3 separate regions of the Homo sapiens genome follow, and regions 2 and 3 are each linked to region 1. The links are contacts of gene promoters, found by promoter capture Hi-C in blood cells and fetal thymus (Javierre and others, 2016). All regions are on one chromosome and are shown on one strand. The core of a region is centred on a gene start or on the middle of the fragment in contact, and the rest is flanking DNA. Distances in the headings are between cores, read along the strand shown.

Region 1 (2,769 bases), core at 1-2,500:
CCCTTTTATCTGAGGCCTTCTTGGAGCTTTCTGTAGTCATTCTTGTTTTGTTTTTGAGACAGAGTCTTACTCTGTCACCCAGGCTGGAGTGTAGTGGCATGATCTTGGCTCACTGCAGCCTCCATCTCTCCAGCTCAGTGATCCTCCCACTTCAGCCTGCTGGGTAGCTGAGACTGCAGGTGCACACCACCATGCCTGGCTATTTTTTTTTCTTTTTTGTAGAGACGGGGTTTCACCATGTTGTCCAGGTTGGTCTCGAACTCCTGAGCTCAAGCGATCCTCCTGCCTTGGCCTCCCAAAGTTCTGGGATTACAGGCATGAACCACCACACCTGGCCACCAGTATCACTCTTTTTTTAAAAAAATTTTATTTTTATTTTAAGTTCTGGGGTACATGTGCAGAATGTGCAGGTTTGTTACGTAGGTAAATGTATGCCGTGGTGGTTTATTGCACCTATCAACCCATCACCTAGGTATTAAGCTCAGCATGCATTAGCAGCACTCTTAACACACAATTAAACTCACATGTAATGAGATTACTTCTCATTACTCCACACCATAGTAGTCTATTTTACAGATGAGGATACTGAGGCTCAGGGAGGCTGAGAGATTTACCTGGAGTCAATCAATTGTTGATCTGGAAGCATCCGATCACCAGGTCTTCTGAAATAATGACAGCAGCAACAATTAACATTATGCTTACTATGCCAAATGCTATGCTTAGCATTTTACCTGCATCACAATCGCGATTCCTTTGGGCAGTTAGGTAGGTTCCATTTTAACCGAATTTAAAGAGGAGGAAGCTGAGGCTCAGAGAGGTAACTTGCCCTAGGTAACCCAGGGTAGTCAGTTAAAAAGTCAAGACTCAGACCTCGATCTGACTAACTCCAAAGAAACCCGTGCCACTCTGCCTCTCGGAAAACACTGCTTCCAGCTGCACAGTTCAAAACCCCACCCAAGGCGGCCCTGAATCGCGGTCAGTCGGCTTCAGCCGAATCGCACTTTGTTTTGAACAAGGATACAGAGGGCGCTGCCTGATGTTAGTCTGGGGGCTTGGGGGAGAAGATGGGGGTCCAGGGTGGAAATGTAGGTGCTGGGGCTGTGCCAGAGGGAGAGTGTCCGGGACCAGCGGGCGAGTCACGTGCGCGTGAAACTCGACCTAAGGGGAGGGGAAAAGAAGGGAGCCCCCGCCCCCACCTCGGGGCGCAGCTCCGGACGCGTGTAAATACAACTATCAACTCCGCAGATCCACTTCATCCAAGCCCAGCTTCGCAGACCTCTGGCGCCCGGCGGGTTCCCAGTTCCCCCGCTTCTTCCGAGGAGACAGCGGAGGCGAGGCCACCGGGCTGTCAGGCTGAAGCTCCGTGGCCGCCGGGTCCTGCACGCAGAGAAGACCCCAGCGCCGGCGCGGCTCAGGGCTGGGCCCACGGGACTCCGGACGCGCCGCGAAAGCGTTGCGCTCCCGGAGGCGTCCGCAGCTGCTGGCTGCTCATTTGCCGGTGACCGGAGGTGAGCAGCGTGGGCGGGGAGGGGGCGCGCGTAGGGTCTCCGGCTATGCGTCGGCTGAGAGACACCGAGGCCGGCTCCCGCCGACACTGCCAGGCTTCCCAAGGAAAGACCGTTACTTGCGCCCGCGGTCCCGCGGCACAGTGTCCCATCTCGCCAAGCGCGTCCTTCCCTTTTCTTTTCTCTGACCCCTCCGACTCTTCTCTTCCTCCCGGGTCCCCGCTCGCTGCACTTCCTCTGCTTAGAGCTGCGCGTTTGCCAGAGTTCCAGCGGACCTCCTGGAGCGCTTGAACCCAAAGCCCCGTTTCACAGATGAGAATACCGAGTCCCCCTGGAAGAAGTGACTGGTACTTCCTCCCCTCTCTCTGGGTCTTTCTTGCCCTTCTCCTCTCCGCTTTCCTCGGTCTCATCCCAGTTGTCGCTCCCCGCCCCCGCGCCGCCCGCGTTCCCTCTCCTCCCGCCGAGGCTGCAGCGGCCGCGGCGGGGGGAGCTGGGGCTCTTTCCCTCCCTTTGGTAAACACACCCGCCCGCCAGCCCATCCGCCACCGCTGCCCTTATAAAGTCAGCAGCCGCCAGACTTCCTGCCGAAGTCCGAGCCCCCTCCCGGGGCTGGAGGGGGGCAAGCGGGTTCCGAGGTGCAAAGCCTGGTGCCCCGAGCCCTGCGGAGTGAGTGAGGGGCGCGCGGGGGAGGAGGGAACCGAGGAGAGCCCGTCCTGGGTCTCCCTCCACGTGGCAGCTGTTGGCTTGGCCCGAGAGACTGTAGGGTCGTGGGTCACCTGATACGGAAAGGGGGAGGGCTTGCTGTCGCCCGGCCCCAGAGGGAAGGAGAGGTCTTGGAGGGGCAACTGGAAGATGGGGTCGTAGGGTAGCCTTGAACTTGCCCTTCTTCCTGCCAGCTTCTAGGGGTCTTTCCTGGCGCGAGAGTCCGGACATGGGCCCGCGGTGCTTCAGAGCGCGCTCTGCCCCTTGCTGTCCTCTGGGGACCTGGGCAGATGCGGACTTTCTCCCCAGCAGCCCGGCCCTGAGCGCCCTGGCCTGGGTGAGAGAACCCGGCAGCCTGCTAGGAAGCTGCAGCGCGCAGACAGGACCTTCCTTGTTTCCGATAGTGGCTCAGCGGGAGCCCCGTGCCGCGTGCACCTCTGGCACTGCTAGTGCGCGCGGAGCCAGCTCCTTGGCACCGGCTGGGAAGCCCAGGGCTCTATGGGGCCTCCATGAGGGGCTCCTCGCGGGCTGGCCCGAGAGGTCTCGGGTGCCACCATGATGC
Region 2 (2,769 bases), core at 113-2,612, 310 kb before region 1:
TGCAACTTCCGCCTCCCGGGTTCACGCCATTCTCCTGCCTCAGCCTCCCGAGTAGCTGGGACTACAGGCGCCCACCACCACGCCCAGCTAATTTTTTGTATTTTTAGTAGAGATGGGGTTTCACTGCATTAGCCAGGATGGTCTCGATCTCCTGACCTCGTGATCCGCCCACCTCGGCCTGCCAAAGTGCTGGGATTACAGAAGACTTTGCAATTTCATCAGCAAAATATGAAAGCATTTGTACTGACTGTGTCTTTAAGCCAGGCTGACCAACTCACTTACCAGCCAATTTTTAACTTTGCTTTTATAGAAATTGTCTTGGAGCTATTCCCTTTGTCCCTATTCTTGTTCTTCACTCTGCTCTTTGCTGCACACATCTACTTAACTTGCCACACGCTATACCCAGTGCTGTGATATAAAGGTGGGGGCTTCACCACTACCTACCACCACTGCCCTGCAGGCTCAGCTTGTTCCATCAGATGCAGCACCAGTACTAACCTTGCCCATACTCCTTTTGCTTTCTTCCCTCTCTACTTGTTTGGAAGTTATATGTCCTATATTCATTCTTTAGTGGTTATTCCAGCTAATATGTATTAGGTTGGTGCAAAAGTCATTGCAGTTTTTGCCATTTCAATGCAATTACTTCTGTACCAATCTATTTAGTTTTTCAAGTCTTATCAGTATCTTTACTTTCCTCCTGAAGAACCCGAAAATTAGTGTTGTAATTGCTCCCTCAACTTTACATGCTATTGTTGTCCAGCATTTTAATTCTAGTCTGTATTTCTCTCCCATAAATTACACACTCCTCTTACAGTGAAGGCTTTAGCAATTTCGTTCAGTGTTCCTTCTTGCATCTGATTCTCCATCTGAGATCATTTTCCTTCCACCTCAAGGACATCCTTTTGTAAGTGGAAACTCTGCTTTTGTCGGAAAATGTTTTTAGTAGCTTTTTAAAAAGTGTCACCTCAGGTAAGCTTTCATAATAAGTTCCTTTTTCTCTTAACATGATGAAGATAAATTTCACTGTTTCCTGGCTTTCATTGTTGACACAGAAGTCACCATCTGGCTGGTTTTCTACAGGTAGTCTGTATTTTCTCTCCAGATGCCCACAATCTTTTCTTTGGTTTTCTGCATCTCACCCTGATGTACTAGGTAAGTTGGTTTATCTTGCTTGAGATTCACTGGGCTCCCTAAGTCTGAGGTTTGGTGCCTTTCATCCAACCCTAAAAAATTTCTCTTTGAATATTGCCTCCTCCTATCTCCTGATGTTCCAAATAATGTTTATTAGATCTTATTCCATTGTTGTCTCAACCTCTTGCCTATTTTCCATTCTCTATCTGGAGTGCATTCTGTATAATTTCTTATCTTCCAATTCACAAATCCTCCTTCAATTTGTCTAATCTATTTAATCCATGCATTGACTTCTTACCTCAAATTTGTATTTTTCACTTCTAATTCAAAAAGGTTTTTCCACTAATTCAAAAAGTTCATTAATCGTTATTTCATTATAGTCTGTGCAACAATGCCAACATCTGAAGTATTTAAAAGATCAGCTTCTGTGTCTGTCTTTTCACTCATTGTGCCTTATTTCTTTGTTCAGTTTATAATTTTTGGGCAAGAGCACTCATTTGCCTTGAAAGTATATCTATGGGAATTGTTCTGAGGCCTTAGAGGAATTGCATTTGCTTCTGAAAATCACCTGGAAGCATAAACAAATGAGTACCACTTTAAATTCCCCAGTTAAGCTTTTTGGACCACACAGGTAGCCTAAGTTTGGACTGAAAGCCCATAGAAGGCCATTTGTGGTTATAAATCATCAGGGAAAATATTCTATAGTTTCCATGTGCCACTAAGGTTGAGACAAATGAGTTCCTTGCTGCGCCCTTCTATGGAGTGTTTATTTCTTGTTCACCTTTACACTGAGGGTGTCCAGCTTTATGAGGGAACCTACTAGATTTCTCATTTCCTGTTGCCCATACTTTGTGTAATCACTAAAATAGAAGGTTATGGTCTGCTGAATTTGGCAAAAATTCTGAGGAAAAGCTGGCTTTGGCAGTTACTTCCTAGGATTCCAGCTTTTGCTTCATTTTGAAGAGCCGTAGGTTCCTTACTTTCGTGCCTGCTCAGCAATATGTTTAAAAGTATTTTTTATAAATATATTTACCCAGTATCTTGGTTGCTTCTGCTGAAAGGACTTTTCAGAATTATCTAATCCAGCATACTGCCAAAAACAGAGCCCTGAATTAGTTTCAAATACGCACACCAACGCACTCCCCCTGCCCCGATTCTGCCAACGCGTGAACTGTAAGACCAAAGCTAAGCCTGCCTTTAAGGTGGAAGGAAAAGAAGAATTGAGGTGAGCCAGGCATGGTGGCTCACGCCTGTAATCACTACACTTTGGGAGGCCGAGGCAGGCAGATCACCTGAGGTTGGGAGTTCAAGACCAACCTGACCAACCTGAAGAAACCCCGTCTCTACTACAAATACAAAATTAGCCAGGCGTGGTGGCGCATGCCTGTAATCCCAGCTACTCCAGAGGCTGAGGCAGGAGAATTGCTTGAACCTAAGAGGCGGAGGTTGCAGTGAGCCAAGATTATGCCATTGCACTCCAGCCTGGGCAACAAGAGCGAAACTTCACCTCAAAAAAAAAAAAAAAAAGAATTGAGGTGAAGACAAAAATTGGGTAATTGACTGGAACATCACCACAAATATCCCATATTTCTTTTTCCTCAGGCATAAATGTCTTATGGCACTGTCCATTAGCACTAG
Region 3 (2,769 bases), core at 112-2,611, 260 kb before region 1:
TAGACTAAAGGAAGGGGAGAGGCCAAATGCCTTTCTCCTTCCTACAAGAGGAGAGAGATCAGGTACACTATGAAAAATAAGAAAAAGCCTCATTGAAATGCAAAGGTATTGATTAGGTCTCATGTCATAAAAGAGAAATCCTAAAATTAACTAAGACACCTTATATCCTTCCATACCCTAGACTCGGAAAAAAAAAATATTCATGGAAAAGCTTAACCTTAGAGTTTACTAGGGGTCACCCAACTGTTTGAGCTCACATTCCTTTTTTAAAATAGCAGCTTCTCGGCCAGGTGCGGTTGCTCACGCCTGTAATCCCAGCACTTTGGGAGGCTGAGGCGGGTGGATCACCAGGTCAGGAGTTTGAGACTAGCCTGGTCAACATGGTGAAACGCTGTCTCTGCTGAAAATACAAAAATTAGCCTGGCGTGGTGGCAGATGCCTGTAATCCTAGCTACCCGGGAGGCTGAGGCAGGAGAATCGCTTGAACCCAGGAGGTGGAGGTTGCAGTGAGCAGAGATTGCGCCATTGCACTCCAGCCTGGGCAATAAGAGTGAAACTCCATCTTGAAAAAGAAAGAAAGAAAGAAAATAGCAGCTTCTCACCAAACTTTCAATCTATGGCATTCCCCCACCTCTTTGCCCATCATTTGAAAATAACTTGGAAAAGGTGGAAGCATGTAATTGAGCCAGATTTACACAGTCCCAATTCCTCAAAACCCTGAAAAGACCAATAAGGCATTCTTTTCATCAAGTTTGGAGTATGTCTTCCTTTTGAGATAAGCAACAGGGAGACAGAGCATGTCAATCTATAAATAAATCAATCAGAAGTGTTAAGGTCCTTTCTTGGCTTTAGGACAGATAGCAGGAGGAAATGTTTCTCCTTATCTGAAAGAAGAAAATCCCATCTTGAAGGGGAAGAAAGTTGTGCATTATTGCTCTTCCCCTTGAAGTTATCATATAATCCTTTCAACACCTGCTGAGGTAATGGCCTCTTTTTATAAATAAGTATACTACCTATATACCAGAAGTATTTAGTATCTTGCCCAAGCTCATCAACTAGTAGTAAGTAGTGAAAACTCCTATTTTATTCCAAGTCCATGCTCCTTCTTGATAAAGTGGAAAGAGTATGAATTTTCTATGTTTCCTGGGGTTAAAAGTCATTCTTCGGGCCAGGAGAGGTGGTTCAAGCCTGTAATCCCAGCACTTTGGGAGGCTGAGGCAGGCAGACTGCTTGAGCTCAGGAGTTTGAGACCAGCCTGGGCAAAATGGCAAGACACCATCTCTACAAAAAATACAAAAAATTAGCTGGGGGTGGTGGCATGTGCCTGTAGTTCCAGCTACTCGGGAGGCTGAGGTGGGAGGATCACTTGAGCCTGGTGGTTCCAGGCTGCAGTCAGCCAAGATTGTGCCACTGTACTCCAGCCTCAGTGACAGAGTAAGACCCTGTCTCAAAAAAAAAAAAAAAGTCATTCTAGTTCCAATTAAGAAGTTAACCCAAAGTTGACATTTTTTTTACGGAGAGGGGAAGGAGGCAAGAGAAGGTGGAATGGAGCCAGCTAGACTTTTGGGTCTTATCTTCACTTTAAAGAACAAAACCTTACTCAATTTGGGAAGAGTAGCTTGCAGCCTACTTCAGATTTACCTTCCCTTTTATAAGAACCTAGTACTCAGGAGGAAAGGTGCTAAGAACAAAAGAGGCACTACTCTGTAAAAATTACCTACCTTACCACTGGCAAGCCTGCTCTAGAAAGCTGGCTACATGTCACATTCTCTGATCACCCCCTCAACCCTACCACAAGAAAAAAAATCCAATCCCTACTCTCATTTTTAATGTGACATCTCACTAAGCCAAAAGCAAAGATCAGAGATGGGGTGGGAAACAGAAGGAACTAGAGGCAGTAAAGATTGTGCTAGCCAGCATAAGAACAGAGAAGAAGGATTGTTCTAGTGGTATGTTAGCAATCTGCCTCTAGGGCAGCTGTCCTCCTGGACAATCAAAGGCGGGTTTGTGTGTGTGCTCAGGAACCAGCCAGCTTGGCTCAAAGTTAAGGACTCAGCCATCCAATCCACAAAGTGAGAAAAGATGCCTGTTTCACAGCTGGAATGGAAGGCAGGGAAAACACAAAACAAGAGAGAAAAGAGGGCAGAAAAGAGAGAGGGTATTACAGGTGCTATTTCAGTCTAGACATAGGGAAGAAAAATCCCAGGAAACTACCAACCATTCTCTAGTTATGATCAAACATTAGAGAATTGCTAGTAACTCTTAATACTAAGCGGGTAGGTTTCTCCTGATCTGTATGCAGTAGGGTGCCAATTGGAAGGATGAGATATAAAATGTAAAGGACCTCAGCATTACCTGTTTCCTTCTGTCCCTTTTAAACCCAACAAGGTACCTGCAACATATACAGCAAATGAACATTACTTAACATTTATTTCCTTCTAGAATTCCTTTCTTAATTAAATCCTAGAGATCCACAAAGAATAGCAGCACACACAAAACTCAGTAAGCTTCCCAGTGCTAAGAGATCAGGACCATTTATATAACTTAAGTGCTAAAACGCAAAAGGCCACAGTCAGAATTCACACTCTCTAATCCCTCGGAGTAGCTAGATGCTCCGAGACCCATTAGACACACAAAGGCTGCTCTCTTCTCAGCAGAGCTCTGTAGCAGAGCTGCTCTCCAGGGACAAAGAGATTTCACAGGAGAACCACAAAGACATCGACCCTCTCTGTTCCCCCACTCCCAGCTTTCTCACTTCCTGTCACAGTA

Evidence for each region. Contacts are between HindIII fragments. The CHiCAGO score rates a contact against its expected background, and 5 or more counts as called.
Region 2: a contact is called between a fragment that was not itself captured here and the fragment with the promoter of SLC43A1 in region 1, in 1 of 17 cell types (neutrophils). The highest score is 7.2, in neutrophils.
Region 3: a fragment that was not itself captured here is called in contact with the fragment with the promoter of SLC43A1 in region 1 in 1 of 17 cell types (neutrophils); the score reaches 5.5 in neutrophils.

The regions. Positions count from the first base shown.
Region 1 is chr11:57,514,183-57,516,951 of GRCh38, reverse strand. It overlaps SLC43A1 (solute carrier family 43 member 1), which reads left to right and starts at 1,250. Exons shown (of 15, transcript NM_003627.6): 1 at 1,250-1,508. RefSeq lists an enhancer at 1,027-1,096. The HindIII fragment of the contact is 5,778 bases long and covers 1-2,769 here.
Region 2 is chr11:57,821,725-57,824,493 of GRCh38, reverse strand. No RefSeq gene overlaps it. Among named protein-coding and RNA genes, the nearest start is that of CTNND1, 61 kb to the right of the region's middle. The HindIII fragment of the contact is 771 bases long and covers 977-1,747 here.
Region 3 is chr11:57,778,752-57,781,520 of GRCh38, reverse strand. All of the region lies in intron 1 of CTNND1 (catenin delta 1), which reads right to left. The region is part of intron 2 of TMX2-CTNND1 (TMX2-CTNND1 readthrough (NMD candidate)); the gene reads right to left. Among named protein-coding and RNA genes, the nearest start is that of CTNND1, 18 kb to the right of the region's middle. RefSeq lists enhancers at 1,032-1,917, 1,918-2,769 and a silencer at 2,760-2,769. The HindIII fragment of the contact is 2,296 bases long and covers 214-2,509 here.